3 separate regions of the Homo sapiens genome follow, and regions 1 and 3 are each linked to region 2. Evidence: promoter capture Hi-C in 16 types of primary human blood cells and fetal thymus (Javierre and others, 2016). All regions are on one chromosome and are shown on one strand. Each heading gives the region's core, a stretch centred on a gene start or on the middle of the fragment in contact. The rest is flanking DNA. Distances are from core to core; before and after follow the strand shown.

Region 1 (3,107 bases), core at 182-2,681, 830 kb after region 2:
TATTTGACACAGAGTCTTGCTCTGTGGCCCAGGCTGGAGTGCAATGGTGCCTTCTTAGCTCACTGCAATCTCAGCCTCCCAAATTGAAGGGATTCTGCTGCCTCAGCCTCCTGAGTAAGCTGGGACTACAGGTGTGAGCCACCACACACAGCTAACTTTAGTATTTTTTGGTAGAGATGGGGTTTCATCATGTTGGCCAGGCTAGTCTCAAACTCCTGATATCAGGTGATCCACCTGCCTCAGCCTCCCAAAGGGCTGGGATTACAGGAGTGAGCCACCATGCCCAGCCCTAAAAAACTAATGTTATGTTATTGTTAACTTGATTTTTTCTTATTAACATATGATGTTCCAAGGAGTCATTGTTAAAAATTGGAGTAACAAGGAGAAATATGAAGAGAGAAAAACACTTCCTTATAAAATTACATTAATATGTTTCCTTTCTATAATTTCTATGCAACATACTGGGAATCACACATTAGTTTACAACCCAATTCATAAATTAGCATTATGCCAGAAGCATTTCTCATGTCATTGAATACTTCATAAGTCATTTGAAAGTGTGTATGTTTTTTAATTGTATGATTGTATCATATATACTAACCCTTTCATTATTGTTGGACCCAAGATTTTACCTGGTATTTGACAATTCCAATAATGCTAAGGTAAAATCTTGAGTGTGTACCATTTTGTCCACATTATTTTCTGAAGATAGATTTCTAGTAGACTCATTGGCTCAAAAAGTACTACCATTTTTTAAGGTTATCAATATATTTTGCTAAATTTGTGTGCAGTAGTTATCTACTAACATTTGCTACAGCAGTTTATGAGAATATAGTTATTACTTCATTCTGACCAGCAAGACTAATTTTCAAATAAGCCTTGATTTTAGAGCTTGGTTTATGTGGTGATGCCATCTGGTGGCCTAGTACAAAATTACAGAATCAGAAGTGAAAAACCTTTTGAAAACTGTAATGAGCAAAATTAAATTTATAAGGTGATGGCAAATAGCACAAGTCTTATACGTTGTCAGAAAGCATTCTTGCTGTTTGGATTTCTAAAAATTATCAGGAGCCATGTAAAATGAAGATTACAAACTCAAACAATGCTCATTCATTCATCTCTTCAACCTGAGTTTTTGGAGTACCTACCACATGGTAGTACTATTCCCTGCTGATGAAAAAGATGAAGTCTCCATGCATGATTTCCAGGAATGTGTAGTTTAATGGGGATACATAATGCAAATTTACCACTATAAATTTTACCAAAGGCTTTCACAAGTGGTGACTAATATTTACTAATATTTGTCATTTGAATCATTTTTATCAAATGTATGATATGTAATTGTGGTTGACTTTCTCTAAAATAACTCCAGTCATCATTCCACTTCTTGGTATTCATGCCATTGTATAATCTTCTTCCCAGAGTGTGTGCTCAAGTTGGCATCTCTGTTTCTCTTTCTCTCCCTCTTTCTCTCCCACTCCCCTCTCCCACATACACGTCCCCAGCAGAAAACAGAATAACAAACTGCCATGAAGTGAGTAGCTCTATGGAGAGGTCTATGAGGCAAGGCATTGACATTTCTCCTGTTAACAGTGAGTGAGGACCTCACACCAGCCAACAGCATGTGCATGAGGCTGCATATGAGTCTGCCCCAACTGAGCCTTCAGATGACTGTAGCCCTCACCCACACCCCAAAGGCATCCTTGTGAGAAACTCTAAGTCAGAGTCACCCATGGCTGGATTCCTGACCCAAAAAAAGCATAAGTTGTGGGATAATTTAGTAATTTGTTACACACAAATAGTTAACTAATTAACTAATAAAAAGAATTTGAGCCTGGCCTGGTGGCTCATGCCTGTAATCCCAGCATTTTGGGAGGCTGAGGTGGACGGATCACTTGAGGACAGGAGTTCAAAGATCAGCCTAGCCAACATGGTGAAACCCCATCTCTACTAAAAATACAGAAATTAGCCAGGCATGGTGGCCCATGCCTGTAATCCCAGCTACTCAGGAGACTGAGGCAGGAGAATCACTTGAAGTCGGGAGGTGGAGGCTGCAGTGAACCAAGATCGCCCATTGCACTCCAGCCTGGGTGACAGAGCAAGAAACCCTGTCTTAAAAAAATAAAAAAAAGAAAGAAAGCTATTCAAACATTTGAATAGTGATTTCAACATAATTACTCAAGTCCTATACAAAATTACTTAAGTCCTATACAAATTTAAACTACAATTACAGATTTAGTTAAGCTAAGTCTTTTGAGCACCTCAAACACCTTAAGTAGCAAATATACCCAAAGAAAATTATTACAAAACCTATTGCTTACTCTTAAACCTATCCTAAAATATAACAATAGTTTTTAAACTTCATTTCTTTTGTTATTCCTATAATTTTTATTCTTCTCTAAGGCTATAATTCCACTTGATAACTTCCATTAGTTGTATTAATGCATCCTTTTACATCTTTCTGGGCTTGTAGTGATCTCCCTAGACCAATAAGCAAAATATTTCAGTAAATGGCTGGTCAAGCAACTGATTTTTAGTCAGTTTGGGACCCGTTTGTTTTTGCCACGATAATTAACTCCAGCTGCAGGCCATGAAGTCATCTCCTATTTTAGAGTTAAACTTCTTTTGTTATAAAAATAAGACATTTCAAATTCTCATCTTTCACATGTTTTTGGATTTTTATAACCTAATATCTCCATCATAAATGATACGTTTCAAGTCTCAACCAACATTTCATTATGTATTATCCTATCTCTATTATATACTGATATTTTATGTTAGGATTATTACAAATTATGTATGCTTTATTGTATTATTTAAGGGCCACTTAGAAATTCTATATCCTAGGAAAAGAGAAATGAAAGTTTTGTAGTAAGCTTCCTTTTCATTATTATTATTATTTTTGAATTATACTTTAAGTTCTGGGATACATGTGCAGAACGTGCAGGTTTGTTACATAGGTATACACGTGCCATGGTGGTTTGCTGCACCCATCGACCCGTCATCTACATTAGGTATTTCTCCTAATGCTATCCCTCCCCTAGCCCCCCACCCTCTGACAGGCCCTGGTGTGTGATGTTTGCCTCCCTGTGTCCATGTATTCTCAT
Region 2 (3,256 bases), core at 104-2,603:
AAAAGATGTTGCCCCACATCCCTAAACTGGGAAAAGAATAAGGTTTTATTTATAAAAGTTCAAACCATAGACAGAAAGGCAATTAAACCCTGGAATGCGGAATCAAAAATATTGGTTTTGTTGCTTAAACTGAGTAAAATAACCTCTAGAAAAAGAAACTAACTACAGGACATTTTTGAAGCATAGGGGAATGACAGTGCAGTTCTAGTCCATGTTATTTTTCAAATTATGTTTCACTATTTCATAGGAAGTGAAAGTGCCTAAGCTGGAAGAAAAGAAAGCAAGTTAGCCTCTGCTGGGTAAAATAGAGAGGTAAGGTTTAAAATAAGAAACAAGATGCTTTTACAACCAGAAAAGGACACACACTAGATTCCTTTGATAACTATAAACTTTTGAAAATATAAAGAAGAAATACATTCCTTGGAAATACGAACAAAGTAGCAGATTCATTCCACAAGGGCAAATACAAAGGAGGAACTTTAAATTATTTAAAACACCTACATAAACTCTATGCTACAAAAATTCTTACCCTAGAGCAGAGAATGGAAATGTAACAAGACAGAGAAATTTCCTTAATACTTCAAAGAATAGAAAAGACACTGGCTATGAAAATCTATAATTTTTGAGGGGGTTTGGTGATGAAGGCACCATGTTAAGTTTAGGCATATGCTTATCGCCTCTGATTCCAGAAATATTCAATTACCTAGTCATTAATTCTAGACTTTATAAAATTAAATCTAACGTTTCATGTTTTCTTAAGTTTACATTTTTATCCTATTGATATTGTAAAAGAATAAATAACAATATGAGTAAATTGCCACAGGTATTTTTCCCAGTGGAGATGAATTTATCACATTATGTTAAAAGGTCAGATTTGATTGAGAGTGAGCAAAGCTGTGGAGCAGAAAGGCGTGATCCCGCTAGAAGTTGCTGTGTGAATATAAACATTCATCACGAGAAATCAAGAAATAGAAAGGCTATGAAAACAGAAGCAAAGTTCTACATATTAAAACCAAAGTGGCAATTTATTTTATGAACAGACATTTTGCTTCATTAAAAACATTCGCTCTTATTCTTAGCATTCAATGAATTTTGCTTTGAATCCAATCTCCTCTTTTCAGTTTGGCAATTAGATACATAAGAAAGAAATAAAGGAGATAACTAGTAAAATCTTAATTCTCAAAGGCACCCTAAATCCAGCTTACCAGATCTCTGAAGTGGAAACGCGAGTTCTAACGGGGAAGTCCGAACAGTTTTGATGTCAGCGTAGACTACATCTCCAGCCATTGCACAGATCAAAAAGAGAGAGAAGACCACAAATGATGTCCCACTGAAGGGACAATCATATTTCTGCAAAGAAACTTCTGATAAGTAAATTGAGATGGCAAATTTCCTTCTGCTCCCCAAGTGGGTGGTGGACTTCCTCCATGAATAAATGACAAAACCAATGTGTTCAGTCTTACTAATCAAGGTAGCAGATTTCTCGAATACTTGTATGACATGGAAGAAATTACTAACCATACAGTAGGTTCTCGTTTTTCAGTTAGTTTTCTGCCTAAACTTGAAATGCTTTTAACTTTTATTAATACCACAGAAGATATCTCACCATTTTCTCCTATAGACCACTTCCTCTTTTAGTTCAGGCATATATTCTCTGGCGGAAACTCTGAATTTCCAGCATCTTCTCCAAAGTAGGATAGCTATTTGGGAAACAGAACAAGAAAAAGAAGGGATTTTATTACGAAAGTTACAGAAAGGGGCCCTATGTCTTTTATCCTCCTCTCTAAATGCATTGTATTGTCTAGATAATACCTTAAAAATTCTGAAAGCTATTTGCTTTCCTGTATGCTTTATAATATTAACATTAAACTGAGGTAAAACATGAATTATGCAGAGGACTTCTGAACTAAAAAATATATATTTAAGAAACAGAAATAACTCTGTTAAAATAATTCAAGGTAATGACATAAAAGAAAAAAATCTAATTTTAAAATGAGGTGTTCAGAAATTTACTATCGAATACAACATAGCAAACATAGATTTTATCTCCTATTTCTTCTAAAATTCCACTAAAATTGAATTAAGTGAATAAAAATTTGTTAGTCTAAAACAATAACACAAAGGCTCAGGGTCCTATTAGTTGATGAAAAATTTCAACTAATTCCTGGAAAATGGAGAGTAGATGGAGATGTGATCATTGATGAAGAAGTAAAATCAGAGAAAAATGCAGCCAACACCATACAGAGGGAAATAATGGAGGAGAGCCTAGCTACCTGTGAAACCGTCATAGGACATAGAAATGTCAGATATGAAAAATGGCAGGATCCATTAGCTTATGACTAGTAGATTAACTGGAAATCTGCATATGGAAAAACTGGTTTTTTCAATACCCACTCAAGTGCATTCTGCAGAATTAATCTAAACTGCAGTCACCCCATCCCTACCCCTCATCCAAGAAATTTAACTTAGGTTAATTAAATAACTAGAGAACAGATCCTGGCTTTGTGGCATTTAGGGATCCCTCCTATAAAGACCAACTTCTGACCCTGGATGAGGCTTGAGCACCGACCTCTGTCTCTTAAGACTGCATGACACTCTCTCCCTTTTCTGGGCTGTTCCAACTGTTTGTATGTGACTAGACAATACCTACTACATACATGAAAAACTGACTTTTAGAGGTTTTATTATCTGCAGGTGGTTGCATAACCAATAATTTTTTTTTTTTTGAGACGGAGTCTCACTCTGTCACCCAGGCTGGAGTGCAGTGGCGCGATCTCGGCTCACTGCAAGCTCTGCCTCCCGGGTTCATGCCATTCTCCTGCCTCAGCCTCCCGAGTAGCTGGGACTACAGGCGCCCGCCACCACGCCCGGCTAATATTTTGTATTTTTAGTAGAGACGAGTTTCACGGTGGTCTCGATCTCCTGACCTCGTGATCTGCCCGCCTCAGCCTCCCAAAGGCATAACCAGTACATTTTAAGAGTGATAACTGAGTTCTAAGTCCATGCCATAATTCAACTATGCTGTCTAGATTTTGAGGGTAAGACTCACATTTTATTATTTTTATTTTCATCACTTAGTTTTGTGTGAAACATAACAGCCGCTCAGTAATTATGTGTTGAATTACCAAATCAGTTATGCTATGCTGAATGTTATAATTAGGCTATAACAGTTTTCCAGAATGAGAATAATCATTTTTCACTAAAAAGTAGACTTTTATTCATATGAAAAATATGACTGATGGGCCGGGTGCCCTGG
Region 3 (3,158 bases), core at 20-2,519, 770 kb before region 2:
TTTTGTGTTTTGGTGGGGTAGTATTACATTTTATGAATACAGTAGCCCTCCCTTCTCCTCAGGGGACATGTTCCAAGGCCCCTGCTGTAGACAGCATCTAACCCAGTTGCCTTCAATGAGAATATGTTTCTGTTCATATCTTCCACCCACAAATTTAATGCCTTTTCTGTCTTAACGAAGCACTTACCGTGGCCCATGGCAGTAACTTCTGCAGTTTGAGTTGCAACAGCAAAACTAGCACACATTCTTTTCCCTTCTTCACAATTTAACAGATAGAGGATTTATTCTTACCATAGATGTTAGCAACCTCGGAATACTTGTTTTGTTTTTTGTTTGTTTGTTTGTTTTGTTTTGTTTTTTTGTTTTTTGTTTTTTTTTAGTAAGTCAAGAACCTTCACCTTTTTATTTAAAGGAAGCACTTTACACTTCTCTTTGGCATGTCTGCATAGCCAGCATTACTACTCTTGCGCTTTGTGGCCATTATTAAGTAAAATAAGAGTTACTTGCACTGCAGTACTGTGGCAGTCAATCTGATAACTGAGAGGGACACTAACGGGCAGGGAGTGTCCCCAGCGTGTTTCCACTGGATGAAGGGGTGATTTATGTCCCAGGTGGGATGGAGCAGGACAGTGCAAGATTTTATCACAGTACTCAGAACAGCATGCAATGTAAAACTTATGAGTAGTTTATTTCTGGAATTTTTCATCTGATATTTTCAGACCTCGGTTGACTACTGGTAACTGAAATTGTAGAAAGCACACCTGCAGATAAGGGTGGGGAACTATCGTATTTCTCATCTTATTCATTCCCTTTTGATGGGCGTTTGGGTTCTATCTGTATTTTCTTCTAAGAAGCCTTATAGTTTTATGTTTATGTCTGTAATTTATTTTTAAATTTTTTTAGAGACAGGCTCTTGCTATAGTACCCAGGCTGGTCTCAAACTCCTGGCCTCAAGCTCTTCTCCCAACATGGCCTCCCAAAGTGTTGGGATTACAAGCATGAACCAGTGTGCCCGGTCTGTGATCTATTTTGAGTTAATTTTTGTGTATAGTTGAGGTAGCACTGAGGTTCCTTTTTTTCCCCATATGGATATATAATGACTTCCTATAACATTGTTTGACTATTTTTCCTCTCTTAATTGCGTCAGAGCTTTGTTGAGAATCAGTTGATTGTATAAATGTAGTTCTGTTTCTGGACTTAATTCTGTTTAGTTGATATCTTTATTATTAAGCTAATAACACACTCCTGATTCTTCTAGTTTTATATTAAGTCTTGAAGAAAGGTATTATAAGTCTTTCTTCTCTTTTCAAGATTGTTTTGGCTATTCTAGGTCCTTTGCATTTCCATATACACTTTAAAAGCAACCTGTCAATTTCTGTTAAAAAATCCTGCTGGGGCAAGGCATAGTGGCTCACGTGTGTAATCTCAGCACTTTGGGAGGCTGAGATGGGAGGATCACTTGGGCTCAGGATTTCAAACCAGCTTGGGCAACATGGTGAGACTCTGTCTCTACAAAAAAACCTAAGAATTAGCTGAGCGTGGTGGCTTGTGCCTATGGTCCCAGCTACTTGGGAGGCTAAAGTGGGAGGATCGCTTGAGCCCAGGAGGTCAAGGCTTCAGAGAGCCGTGGTTGCACCACTGCACTCCAGCCTGGACAACAGAGTGATACCCTGTATCAAAAAAAAAAAAAAATCCTGCTGGGGTTACAATTGGGGTTGATATGAATCTGTAGATAAATTTGGGGAAAATTGACATCTTAATGTTGAGTCTTATAATTCATGAATATGAAACCACCTTTGCAGAACTATAAGTAATGAGAGAAGTCTAATATGGTTGACTCCATCTTGCTTCCAACCTCTCAAGTTAAATTGTTTTTTTGTCCATTCTAATGTGGGGGCCAAGATAACTATAAGAGGAATTTAGTTTACAGTTAAAACCACATTCATAAAACAAAGTTAAAATTATGGTAGGGGCTTGAACTTTGCTGAAGAATAGACATAGTTGAACAATGACCCGCCATTACTTAGCTTGTTTTTGTTATATAAGTTGCTTACTGCCCCAGAGTCTTGTATCTGGGGTCGCAAGATTTAGAGCTTCTCCAACTTCTCCTGTAGGTAATATTACTATTGTAAAACCTGAAGAACTGGTCTTTGAGACATTTTTCAGATTTAGCATTTCAGGAGACCAAGAGATGCCACTTCGTCCTGAGACCGCTTCCCAGGAAATGACCTGGCTGTGTGAAAATGGTTTTAGACACCCCTGCAATTTCATCCCCAGCCAATCCGTTGTTTCAGTTCTCCAGCCCCCTGCCTGCCAAAGTAGTAGTTAAAAAACTCTAGCCTCTGAACTCTTGGGGGGATGAGTTTGAAAAGTGTCTGTCGTTCTCCTCACTTGGCTGGCCCTGCAATTATTAAACTCTTTGCTGCAACACCTGCTGTTCTCATTGTTTTTTTCAGGGCAGCAGGCAAGAAGAACCCCTCGGGCTATGACAAATAGGGTACAACTCTATTTATGTAGGCCTTAATTTTTTTCAGCAATGTTTTACAGTTTTCAGTGTAGAGGACTTACGTGTCTTTCGTTACATTTGTCCTGAAGTGCTTTATTTTTTGATGCTTTTATAACTGAAGTTATTGTGAAAAATTTATTTTGTGAATGTTTACTGGTAGTATGTAGAAACACAATTGGTTTTTGTATTTGTAACTGTATTCTGTTAGTTTGCCACTTATTTTGGCAGTTGCTTTTTAGATTTGTTAGGATTTTATATTTAGACAATGAATTTGTCTGCTAGTTTAATATCTATTTTCAGACTTCTGGATTCTGTTCATGATGGTATAACTGGGACTGGATTTATTCTTCTATCTTAAACAACTGGCAAACTGGGAAAATATATGGAACAATGGCTTCCTGATATTGGACAACAGGTAACACAAGACAGTGATTCCTGAGAGGAGGGGAATAAGTTAGGCGAGCCCCACAATTCCCCCTACTTAATGCATGGAGAGACTATCCAAGGTGCAGTGCAGGAAGGGGGAACCCAGACAGAGCCTGCCAGTTTCACTGAGCTTCAGAGGGAGAGAGTGTGGAGTTTGAGAAGACTAAGGCAAAGACTAAGATTTGTGGGTCAGAGTACCAGAGAAAAGAGAGATGCGCAAAGAGTG

The links. Contacts are between HindIII fragments. The CHiCAGO score rates a contact against its expected background, and 5 or more counts as called.
Region 1: a contact is called between a fragment that was not itself captured here and the fragment with the promoter of CLECL1 in region 2, in 1 of 17 cell types (neutrophils). The highest score is 5.3, in neutrophils.
Region 3: a fragment that was not itself captured here is called in contact with the fragment with the promoter of CLECL1 in region 2 in 1 of 17 cell types (activated CD4 T cells); the score reaches 6.6 in activated CD4 T cells.

The regions. Positions count from the first base shown.
Region 1 is chr12:10,561,594-10,564,700 of GRCh38, forward strand. The region is part of intron 1 of LINC02446 (long intergenic non-protein coding RNA 2446); the gene reads left to right. Among named protein-coding and RNA genes, the nearest start is that of LINC02446, 9.8 kb to the left of the region's middle. The HindIII fragment of the contact is 2,885 bases long and covers 1-2,874 here.
Region 2 is chr12:9,731,744-9,734,999 of GRCh38, forward strand. CLECL1 (C-type lectin like 1) reads right to left here and starts at 1,354. Exons shown (of 2, transcript NM_001441815.1): 1 at 1,206-1,354. The coding sequence starts at 1,287. The HindIII fragment of the contact is 6,540 bases long and covers 1-3,256 here.
Region 3 is chr12:8,957,180-8,960,337 of GRCh38, forward strand. It overlaps a transcript of KLRG1 not described here. Among named protein-coding and RNA genes, the nearest start is that of M6PR, 9.1 kb to the left of the region's middle. The HindIII fragment of the contact is 4,249 bases long and covers 1-3,158 here.